Regions from separate parts of the Homo sapiens genome. Here region 1 is linked to region 2. The links are contacts of gene promoters, found by promoter capture Hi-C in human tissues and cell types (Jung and others, 2019). All regions are on one chromosome and are shown on one strand. The core of a region is centred on a gene start or on the middle of the fragment in contact, and the rest is flanking DNA. Distances in the headings are between cores, read along the strand shown. Region 1 overlaps LENG8-AS1 (LENG8 antisense RNA 1). Region 2 holds the start of RDH13 (retinol dehydrogenase 13).

Region 1 (5,352 bases), core at 1,261-3,760, 620 kb after region 2:
GTCTAATCTCCAAAGACAGGAAGTATCCAGCACAGGAGAAAGATGAAAGCCAGAAGACTCAGCAAGCCAGCCCCTCCCACCTTCTGCGCTGACTGGATGGTGCCCACCCACACTGAGAGTGGGTCTCCCTCTCCCCGTCCACTCACTCAAGTGTCAGCCTCCCTGGCAACACCCTCACAGACACACCCAGAAACAATCCTTTTTTTTTTTTTTTTTTTTTTTTTTTTTTTTTTTTTTTTTGAGACCGAGTCTCACTCTGTCACCCAGGTTGGAGTGCAGTGGCACCATCTCGGCTCACTCCAACCTCCGCCTCCCGGGTTCAAGCAATTCTTCTGCCTCAGCCTCCCGAGTAGCTGGGACTACAGGCACGTGCCATCATGCTGGCTAATTTTTGTATTTTTAGTACAGACAGGGTTTCACCATATTGGCCAGGCTGGTCTCAAATTCCTGCCCGTCTTGGCCTCCCAAAGTGCTGGGATTACAGGTGTAAGCCACCATGCCTGGCCCCTTTTCCTATTTTTTAATCAGATTGTTTTCCTGTTAACTGAGTTTTAAGAGCCCTTTGTAAATCTTGGATAGCAGTCCTTCATGAGATAGGTCTCTTGCAAATAGTTTCTCCCAGGCTGCAGCTTTTCTCATTATATTAAAAATGTTTTTCAAAGAGCAGAGGGTTTTGTTTTGTTTTGTTTTTTGAGATGGAGTCTCGCTCTGTCGCCCAGTCTGGAGTGCAGTGGCGTGATCTTGGCTCACTGCAAGCTCCGCCTCCCGGGTTCACGCCATTCTCCTGCCTCAGCCTCCTGAGTAGCTGGGACTACAGGCACCTGCCACCACACCTGGCTAATTTTTTGTATTTTTAGTAGAGATGGGGCTTCACCGTGTTAGCCAGGATGGTCTCGATCTCCTGACCTCATGATCCGCCCGCTTCGGCCTCCCAAAGAGCTGGGATTACAGGCGTGAGCCACCACGCCTGGCCTAGCAGAGGGGTTTTTTTATTATTATTTTAATAAAGTCAAGCTTGTAAGTTTCTTTCATGGATCATGCCTTTGATGTATCAAAAAAATTATCACGGCTGGGCGTGGTGGCTCACAGCTGTCATCCCAGTATTTTGGGAAGCCGAGGTGAGTGGATCACTTGAGGCCAGGAGTTTGAGACCAGCCTGGCCAACGTGGCAAAACCCCATCTCTACTAAAAATACAAAAATTAGCCGGGCGTGGTGGCGCACACCTGTAATTCCAGCTACTCAGGAGGCTGAGGCATGAGAATCACTTGAACCCAGGAGGCAGAGGTTGCAGTGAGCCAAGATTCTGCCAGTGCACTCCAGCCTGGGCGACAGAGTGAGACTCTTGTCTCAAAAAAAAAAATTCACAAAACCCAGTCATGTAGGTTTTCTCCTATGTTATCTTCTAGGAGTTTTATAGATTTGCATTTAACATTCAGCTCTATGATCCATTTTGAGTTAATTTTTGTGAAGAGACTAAGGTCTGTGTATAGATTTGATTTATTTATTTTTGGCATGTTGATGTCCAGTTGTTCTAGCACCATTTGTGGAGAGAAGTTTGGAAGTTTGAGCATTTTTTATGATACCTTTTTTTTTTTTTTAGACGGAGTCTCACTGTCATGCAGGCTGGAGTGCAGTGGCACAGTCTCGACTCACTGCAGCCTACTCCTCCCAGGTTCAAGCAGTTCTACTGCCTCAGCCTCCCAAGTAGCTGGGATTACAGGCGTGCACCACCACACCCAGCTCCTTTTTGCATTTTTAGTAGAGACAGGGTTTCACTATATTGGCTAGGCTGGTCTCAAACTCCTGACCTCGGGATCTGCCTGCCTTGGCCTCCCAAAGTGCTGGGATTACAGGTGTGAGCCACCACGCCCAGCCTTATGATACTGTTCTATCTCTGCTCTGTGCCCACCACCACACCCAGCTAATTTTTGTATTTTTTGGTAGAGACGGGGTTTCACCATGTTGGCCAGGCTGGTCTCGAACTCCTGACCTCAGGTGATACGCCTGCCTCAGCCTCCCAAAATGCTGGGATTACAGGTGTGAGCCACTGCGCCTGGCCTTGTCTTCACTTTTGTTTTTTTGGTTTTTTTTTTGAGAGGGAGTCTTGCTCTGTCGCCCAGTCTGGAGTGCAGTGGCGCGATCTCGGCTCACTGCAAGCTCCGCCTCCCGGGTTCACGCCATTCTCCTGCCTCAGCCGCCCGAGTAGCTGGGAATACAGGCGTCCACCACCACGCCCGGCTAATTTTTTGTATTTTTAGTAGAGACGGGGTTTCACTGTGTTAGCCAGGATGGTCTCGATCTCCTGACCTTGTGATCCGCCCGCCTCTGCCTCCCAAAGTGCTGGGATTACAGGCGTGAGCCATCGTGCCCGGCCCACTTTTGAAAAACAGTTTCAGTGAGTATCGAATTCTAGGTTGACTACTTTTTTCTTTTGCTACTTTAAGAATTTTCTTACACTGCTTTCTCACATTGTTTCCAGTGAGAAATCTGGTGTCATCCTAATTTTTGTTCCTCTGTTTATAAAATCTTTTTGTTTTTCATCTGGCTGTTGTCAAGATTTTCTCTTTGTTACTGGTCTTAAGAAATTTGATTATGATGTATCTTGGTTTATCTTTGTGTTTCTTCTGCTTGGGGTGTGTTGAGTTTCTTGTATCTTTGGTTTTATAGTTTGTATCAAATTTGGGAAATTTGGGGTTATTATTTCTTTAAACACTCTCTCTGTTCCTTTCTTTCTCTCTCCTTATGGGCCTCCAGTTACACATATATTAAAATGTCCCACAGCTCACCAGTGTTCTTTTCATTAAAAAAAAATATATTCATTCCTTCTGGGGCAGGGCATGGTGGCTCATGCCTGTAATCCCAGCACTTTGGGAGGCCAAGGCAGTAGGATCACTTGAGCCCAGGAGTTTGAGACCACCCTGGGCAACATGGTGAGACCTCATCTCTACAGAAAATTTTTAAAGATTAGCCAAACATGGTGGTGTGCGCCTGTAGTCCCAGCTACTCGAGAGGCTAAAGTGGGAGGATCGCTTGAGCTGGAGAGGTTGAGGCTGCAGTGAGTCATGATCACGCCAGTGCACTCCAGCCTAGGTGACAGAGTGAGACCCTGTCTAAAAAGTAAAAAAAAAAAAATCATTTTTTTAAATGTTTCATTTGGACAGTTTCTAATGTTGTCTTCCAGATTTTTTTTTTTTTCCTGCAATGTCTAATCTGCTGTTCTAGGGCTGGGTGCAGTGGCTCGCACCTGTAATCCCAGCACTTTGGGAGGCCGAGGCTGGCAGATCATTTGAGGTCAGGAGTTTGAGACCAGCCTGGCCAACATGGTGAAAGCCCGTCTCTACTAAAAATACAAAAATTAGCTGGATGTGGTGGCAGGTGCCTGTAGTCTCAGCTACTTGGGAGGCTGAGGCATGAGAATTGCTTGAACCTGGGAGGTGGAAGTTGCAGTGAGCCTAGATCATGCCACTGCACTACAGCCTGGGCAACAGAGCAAGACTCTCCCCCAAAAAACAAAAATCTGCTGTTCCAGCCAGTACATTATTTATTTCAGACATTGTAATTTCTATCTGTTGATATCCAGTTTGAGTTTTTTTATATCTTCCGTATCTGTAAAGAACTTTTGGAACGTATGGAGTACAGTATAATAGTTGTTCTAATGTTCTTACCTACTAATTCTAACTCCTGGGTCCGTTTCAGTTGAATGATTTTTATCCTCATGATGTGCCCTATTTTCCTGCTTTTTGCATATTTGGTGACTTTGTTGTTGGATACTAGACAATATCAGTATTACCTTGTCGAGCACTCGTTACTTTTGTATGCCTATAAATATTCTTGAGCTTTGTTTGAGAATGCAGTCACCTTACTTGGAAGCAGCTTGATCCTTTCAGGTTTTGCTTTTAAGATTCCTCAGGCAGGACCAGAACAGTGTTTAACAGGTTAGGGCTGCTTATTCCCCACGGCTGATGTAAGACCCTCTCCGTGTTCTACCCAGTGTTCCTTCAGTTATGAGGTTCTTCTGGCAGGAACAGCGCCTTGTCAAGGCCTGTGTGAGTCCCCAGAACTCAGGCGCTATTTGCTTCAGTCCCTCCAGGTGGTTCTTTCCCTGGCATTCTAGTCTGCAGTAACAGAGGACCATGGACTGGTGGCTCAAAAACAACAAACACTTATTTCTCACAGTTCTGGAGGCTGGAAGTCCAAGATAATTTATTTTTATTTTTATTTATTTATTTTTTGAGATGGAGTCTCGCTCTGCTGCCCAGGCTGGAGTGCAATGGCGCGATCTTGGCTCACTGCAACCTTCGCCTCCCAGGTTCAAGAGATTCCCCTGCCTCAGGCTCCCGAGTAGCTGGGACTACAGGCACCCACCACTACACCCGGCGAATTTGTATATATTTAGTAGAGACAGGGTTTCACCATGTTGGCAAAGCTGGTCTCGAACACCTGAGTTCAGGTGATCTACCCACCTCGGTCTCCCAAAGTGCTGGGATTACAGGCGTGAGCCATCGCACCCGGCCCATAACTTCATTCTCAAAACAAAGCTCAAGAACAAAGCTCAGACTCCCTGCTTTGTCTCCTCTGCTCACGGAGTCCTCCCAGCTCCGCCTCAGTCTTCCCTCCCTGTCCCGTGGTCTAGAAACTTGCAACAGGACCCAGCGGCAATTTTAGGGCTTGCCTTGATGTTTCCCGTTCCTCAGGGATCACTTTCTTGGTAGAGTCTTGACCACTGTTGTTTTCTTGTATTTACTCTATTTTTGGGGGGTCAAGTCCAGTCTCTGTGACTCCATCCTGGTCGCAGTGGAAGCCCCCATAGGTAACATTCTAAAAATAACACTGGATTTTCCTTTTGTAAAGTTTGGGTAAAATGCCTTTTTTTTTTTTTTTTTTTTTTTTGAGACGGAGTCTTGCTCTGTCGCCCAGGCTGGAGTGCAGTGGCGCGATCTCGGCTCACTGCAAGCTCCGCATCCCGGGTTCAGGTGATTCTCCTGCCTCAGCCTCCTGAGTAGCTGGGATTGCAGGCGCCCGCCACCATGCCCGGCTAATTTTTGTGTTTAGTAGAGATGGGGTTTCACCGTGTTGGCCAGGCTGGTCTCAAACTCCTGACCTCAGGTGATCGCCTGCCCCAGCCTCCCACAGTGCTGGGATTACAGGCGTGAGCCAGGGTGCCCGGCCAACTTCTTGTTGAGAGATCACCCCCAGGCTCATTGGCATGGGAGATCAAGCAGCTGAGTCTCAAGGTACTTTGCAGCCGCCCAACAGCCAGCGGATGCCTGTGCTTGGGAAATGGGCTCAGGGGCACTAGAGGGCAGTGTTTGAGAGGAAAGAAGTCAGCATAGCAGCAGGGCCGGGCCTGG
Region 2 (4,981 bases), core at 115-2,614:
GCCTCTTATACAGCATTTGGCATTGTGTAACTGGTTTAATACGTTTGAGATGGTGAGAGCTTAAGGTCTACAGGCCTAAGGTTTTTTTTTTTTTGACAGAATTTCACTCTGTCGCCAGGCTGGAATGCAGTAGGGCAATCTCGGCTCACTGCAACCTCCACCTCCCGAGTTCAAGTGATGCTCCTGCTTCGGCCTCCTGAGTAGCTGGGACTACAGGTGAGTGCCACCACATCCAGCTAATTTTTGTATTTTTAGTAGAGACAGGGTTTCACCATGTTGGCCAGGCTGGTATCAATCTCCTGACCTCGTGATCCATCTGTCTCGGCCTCCCAAAGTGCTGGGATTACAGGCGTGAGCCACCGTGCCCGGCCATTGACTAAGGTCTTAAAATAGCTCTTCCTGCCTGTATAATCTCCATTATGGCAGGGCTCATATAAGAAGATGACAGTTCATCTGATGAGGAAGAAAACTTACTCCTAGTTAGATTGGGTTGAATTCTTCCCTGTTTCCAGCGGTGTCTGCTCCTGGCACCTCAGGCACAGTCAGGGGTAGGAGGTGGTGATCAGATACACTCGCTGTGAGCAGTGCAAGGGGAAGCAGGTGCCCAGAGGTGCATCCCGGTTTGGTGGGGGTGACAAACATGGACAGGTAAGTGCAGGAGTGTGTGCAATACTCAATCTAAGAAAGGTAGTTCAGGCAGAGTTCAGGGAAGATATCTCTGTGCAGGGCCAGACATGGGGATGAGATTCTGATAATTTGGGAATGAATCAGGCCCCCAGCCCCTCCTCCCTCAGACTCAGCAGTCCAGGCACCCGGCCCTCCTCCCTCGGACCCAGAAGTCCATGCTCCCAGCCCCTCCTCCCTTGGACCCAGGAGTCCAGGCCCCCAGCCCCTCCTCCCTCAGACCCAGGAGTCCAGGCCCCCAGCCGCCTTCTCCTGCAGGACCCCAGGAGCTTGGGTACCCACAGGCTACTAGATCCTTGTTTCTGTGCATGGAAATTCTCAAATTATCTCCAAAAGTCTATGAAGAAGGTAAACACACATTTCCAGATGAGGGAATAGGCTGATATAGTTGAAAGACACACAGAGGGTCACAGTCTGGAATTGACAGTGGTGGGATTCGAACCTATTTCACTCCAGAACTGCGTAGCGCCTTATACGCTGCGGCAAGTGTGACGTCATTCGAACAAACCATAGGCCCCGCCCCCGGACTAGCCACGCCCACAGGCTCCTGAAACCACCAATCCCAGCTGTGACAGCGCTCAGGACCGATGCTCATAGGTCCCGTCCCTAGGATCCCCGCCCCCTCCGCCCGCGCCCCGCCCCTCGCAGCCCAGTTCCGGACGCGGGCCCAGCCGCGCCTGCGCCTCCGCTCGCCTGTGGCTGCGTCGCGCGCTCTTCCTCGGAGCTACCCAGGCGGCTGGTGTGCAGCAAGCTCCGCGCCGACCCCTGACGCCTGACGCCTGTCCCCGGCCCGGCATGAGCCGCTACCTGCTGCCGCTGTCGGCGCTGGGCACGGTAGCAGGCGCCGCCGTGCTGCTCAAGTGAGTACATTCTAGCCCCGCGTGCGCGGTCAAGGCGGGCCCCCAGCGCAGGGGCCGGGAAGGCGGCGGAGACCCCCGCCCCTCGCACCCGGGTCCAGGCCCCGTAGCTCCCGACCCGCAGTGCCCGCCCGGAGTGGGGCAAACCTGCGCTCTGGCCGGCCAGGTCACCGGCCCAAGGTCACTCGGAGGGAAGGGCGAGCCTGGGCCCTTGTAAATGTTGCTTTCCTTCCAGACTTTTAAACTCTTTATTTTGTTGTTTTGTATTATTTATTTGTTCGTTTATTTTTAAAGGCAGAATCTGGCTCTGTCGCCCAGGCTGGAGTGCAGTGGCGCGATCTTGGCTCACTGCAGCCTTGACCTCCTGGGCTCAGGTGATCCTCCCACCTTGGCGTCCCCAGGAGCTGAGATCACACGTGCGCCACCACGCCCGGCTAATTTTTGTATTTTTCGCAGAGACGGGGTTTTGCCATGTTGGCCAGGCTGGTCTCAAACACCTGCCCTCAGGTGATCCGCCTGCCTCGGCCTCCAAAGTGCTGGGATTACAGACGTGAGCCACCTCGCCCAGCCTACTTAATTTAAACTTTCTTAAAAATTAGCCTCTGTGGCTGGTGGCCACTGTATTGCATGGTGCCCTTCTCTCCTGTGGGTGCAGTGCTGTTTACCTGCTCAGCCTCCTGTTGCTGGACACTATCTTGTTGCCAGCGTTAGCCTCTGTGGGACATGGGTGTGGTGGGCAGAGTCGTGACTCCGTAGAGGGGTCCACGTCCTAATCCTCGGAAGGTGTGACGACATTACCTCACGTGTCAGAGGTTCTCGCTGATGTGTTAAGTGAAGCATCTTTTTTTTTTTTGAGACAGAGTTTCGCTGTTGTTGCCCAGGCTGGAGTGCAATGGCACGACCTCGGCTCACCACAACCTCCACCTCCCGGGTTCAAGCGATTGTCCGGCCTCAGCCTCCTGAGTAGCTGGGATTACAGGCATGTGCCACCACGCCTGTCTAATTTTGTATTTTTAGTAGAGACGAGGTTTCTCCATGTTGGTCAGGCTGGTCTTGAGCTCCCGACCAAAGGGGATCTGGCCACCTTGGCCTCCCAAAGTGCTGGGGTTACAGGCGTGAGCCACCGTGCCCGGCCAAGTGAAGGATCTTATGATTATCATGTAGTCTTTTTTTTTTTTTGGAGACAGGGTCTCTCTGTCACCCAGGCTGGAGTGCAGTCATGCTGTCACAGCTCACTGCAGCCTCACCCTCCCTGGGCTCAGGTGGTCCTCCCACTTCAGCCTCCCGAGTAGCTGACTCTACAGGCGTGCACCACCAAGCCCTGCTAATTTTTGTATTTTTAGTAGAGATGGGGTGTCAGCATGTTGGCCATGGCTGGTCTCGAACTCCTGACCTCAAGTGATCCTCCTGTCTTGGCCTCCCAAAGTGCTGGGATTACAGGTGTGAGGCACTGTGCCGGTCCTGCCTTGTAGTCTTATAGGGTCCTTATAAGAGGGAGCAGGAGGCTCAGTCAGAGGGGAGATGGAAGATAGAAGGAGAGGTTGTTGGGTGTGGTGGCTCACGCCTGTAATCGCAGCACTTTGGGAGGCCAAGGCAGGCGGATCACAAGGTCAGGAGTTCGAGACCAGCCTGACCAACGTGGTAAAACTCTGTCTCTACTAAAAATACAAAAGAAATTAGCCAGGTGTGGTGGCATGTGCCTGTAATCCCAGCCACTCAGGAGGCTAAGGCAGGAGAATCGCTTGAACCTGTGAGGCGAAGGTTACAGTGAGCTGAGATTGAGCCACTGCACTCCAGCCTGGGCGACAGAGCGAGACTCTGTCTCAAAAATAAATAAGTAAATAAATAAATAAATAAAGGAGAGGTTCCAGTGAGGATGCAGGTTGAAGATGGAGGCGGGGCCAAGAGTGGAGGAATGTGGCGGTCTGTAGGAGCTGGAAGTGGATTCTTCCCTAGAGCCTCCAGAAGGAACCTGACTCTACCAATACCTTGATTTATTCCAGTGAGACATGTTTTGGACTCTTGACCTGCCGAACTGGAGGAGGATGCACTTATGTGGTTTTAAGCCACTAAGTCTGTGGTAATGCGTACAGCAGCCTTGGGAATCTCGTGCAGCGGGCATTTTAAATTTAAATTTAAATTTTTTTGAGACAGAGTCTCGCTCTGTTGCCCAGGCTGGCACCATTTCGACTCACTGCAACCTCCGCCTTCCAGGTTCAAGCAATTCTCGTGCCTCAGCCCCCTGAGTAGCTGAGATTACAGGTGTGCACCACCACGCCTGTGAAGGGGTGGCCTGCCCCTCCACACCTGTGGGTATTTCTAGTTGGGTGGGACGAGAGACTGAGAAAAGAAATAAGACACAAAGTATAGAGAAACAACAGTGGGCCCAGGGGACCGGCGCTCAGCATACCAAGGACCTGCACCGGCACCGGCCTCTGAGTTCCCTCAGTTTTTACTGATTATTATCTTCATTATTTCAGCAAAAAGGAATGTAGTAGGAGAGCAGGGTGATAATGAGGTCAGCAAAAACCATGTGAGCAAAAGAATCTATGACATAATTAAGTTCAAGGGAAGGTACTATGCCTGGACGTGCACGTAGGCCAGATTGATGTTTCTCTCCACCCAAACATCTCAGCGGAGTAAAGAATAACAAGGCAGCATTGCTGTAAACATGTCTCGCCTCCCGCCATAGGGCGGCTTTTCTCCTGTCTCAGAATTGAACAAATGTACAATCAGGTTTTATACCGAGACATTCAGTTCCCAGGGTCAGGCAGGAGACAGTGGCCTTCCTCTCTCTCAACTGCAAGAGGCTTTCCTCTTTTACCAATCCACCTCAGCACAGACCCTTTACGGGTGTTGGGCTGGGGGACGGTCAGGTCTTTCTCATCCCACGAGGCCATATTTCAGACTATCCCACGGGGAGAAACCTTGGACAATACTCTGTGTTCAAGGGCAGAGGTCCCTGCAGCTTTCTGCAGTGCATCGTGCCCCTGGTTTATTGAGACTAGAGACTGGCGATGACTTTTACCAAGTATACTGCTTGGAAACATTGTGTTAACAAGGCACTTCCTGCACAGCCCTAGATCCCTTAAACCTTGATTTCATACAACACAGGTTTTTGTGAGCTCCAGATTGGGTCAAAGTGGCTGGGTCAAAGCTACAAATTAACAACATCTCAGCAAAGCAATTGTTCAAAGTACAGGTCTTTTTCAAAATGGAGTCTCTTATGTCTTTCCTTTCTATATAGACACAGTAACAGTCTAATCTCTCTTTTCCCTACACATCTGGCTAATTTTTGTATTTTAAGTAGAGACGGGGTCTCGCCATGTTTGCCAGGCTGGACTCGAACTCCTGACCTCAAGTGATCCGCCCCCGCCCCCCCCCACCCCCAAAACTTTGGCCTCCCAAAGTGCTGGGATTACAGGTGCAAGCCCCCTCAC

What was found. The method cuts DNA at HindIII sites, captures the fragments that hold promoters and counts their contacts. A contact is called where the count stands out against the background at its distance.
Region 1: a fragment that was not itself captured here is called in contact with the fragment with the promoter of RDH13 in region 2 in 2 of the 25 tissues and cell types used here (H1 embryonic stem cells and thymus).

The regions. Positions count from the first base shown.
Region 1 is chr19:54,439,560-54,444,911 of GRCh38, reverse strand. LENG8-AS1 (LENG8 antisense RNA 1) reads left to right here. Exons shown (of 3, transcript NR_126418.1): 3 at 1-96. Among named protein-coding and RNA genes, the nearest start is that of LENG8-AS1, 6.8 kb to the left of the region's middle. The HindIII fragment of the contact is 7,065 bases long and covers 1-5,352 here.
Region 2 is chr19:55,059,531-55,064,511 of GRCh38, reverse strand. RDH13 (retinol dehydrogenase 13) reads left to right here and starts at 1,364. Exons shown (of 7, transcript NM_001145971.2): 1 at 1,364-1,544. The coding sequence starts at 1,480. RefSeq lists an enhancer at 2,054-3,021. The HindIII fragment of the contact is 12,596 bases long and covers 1-3,702 here.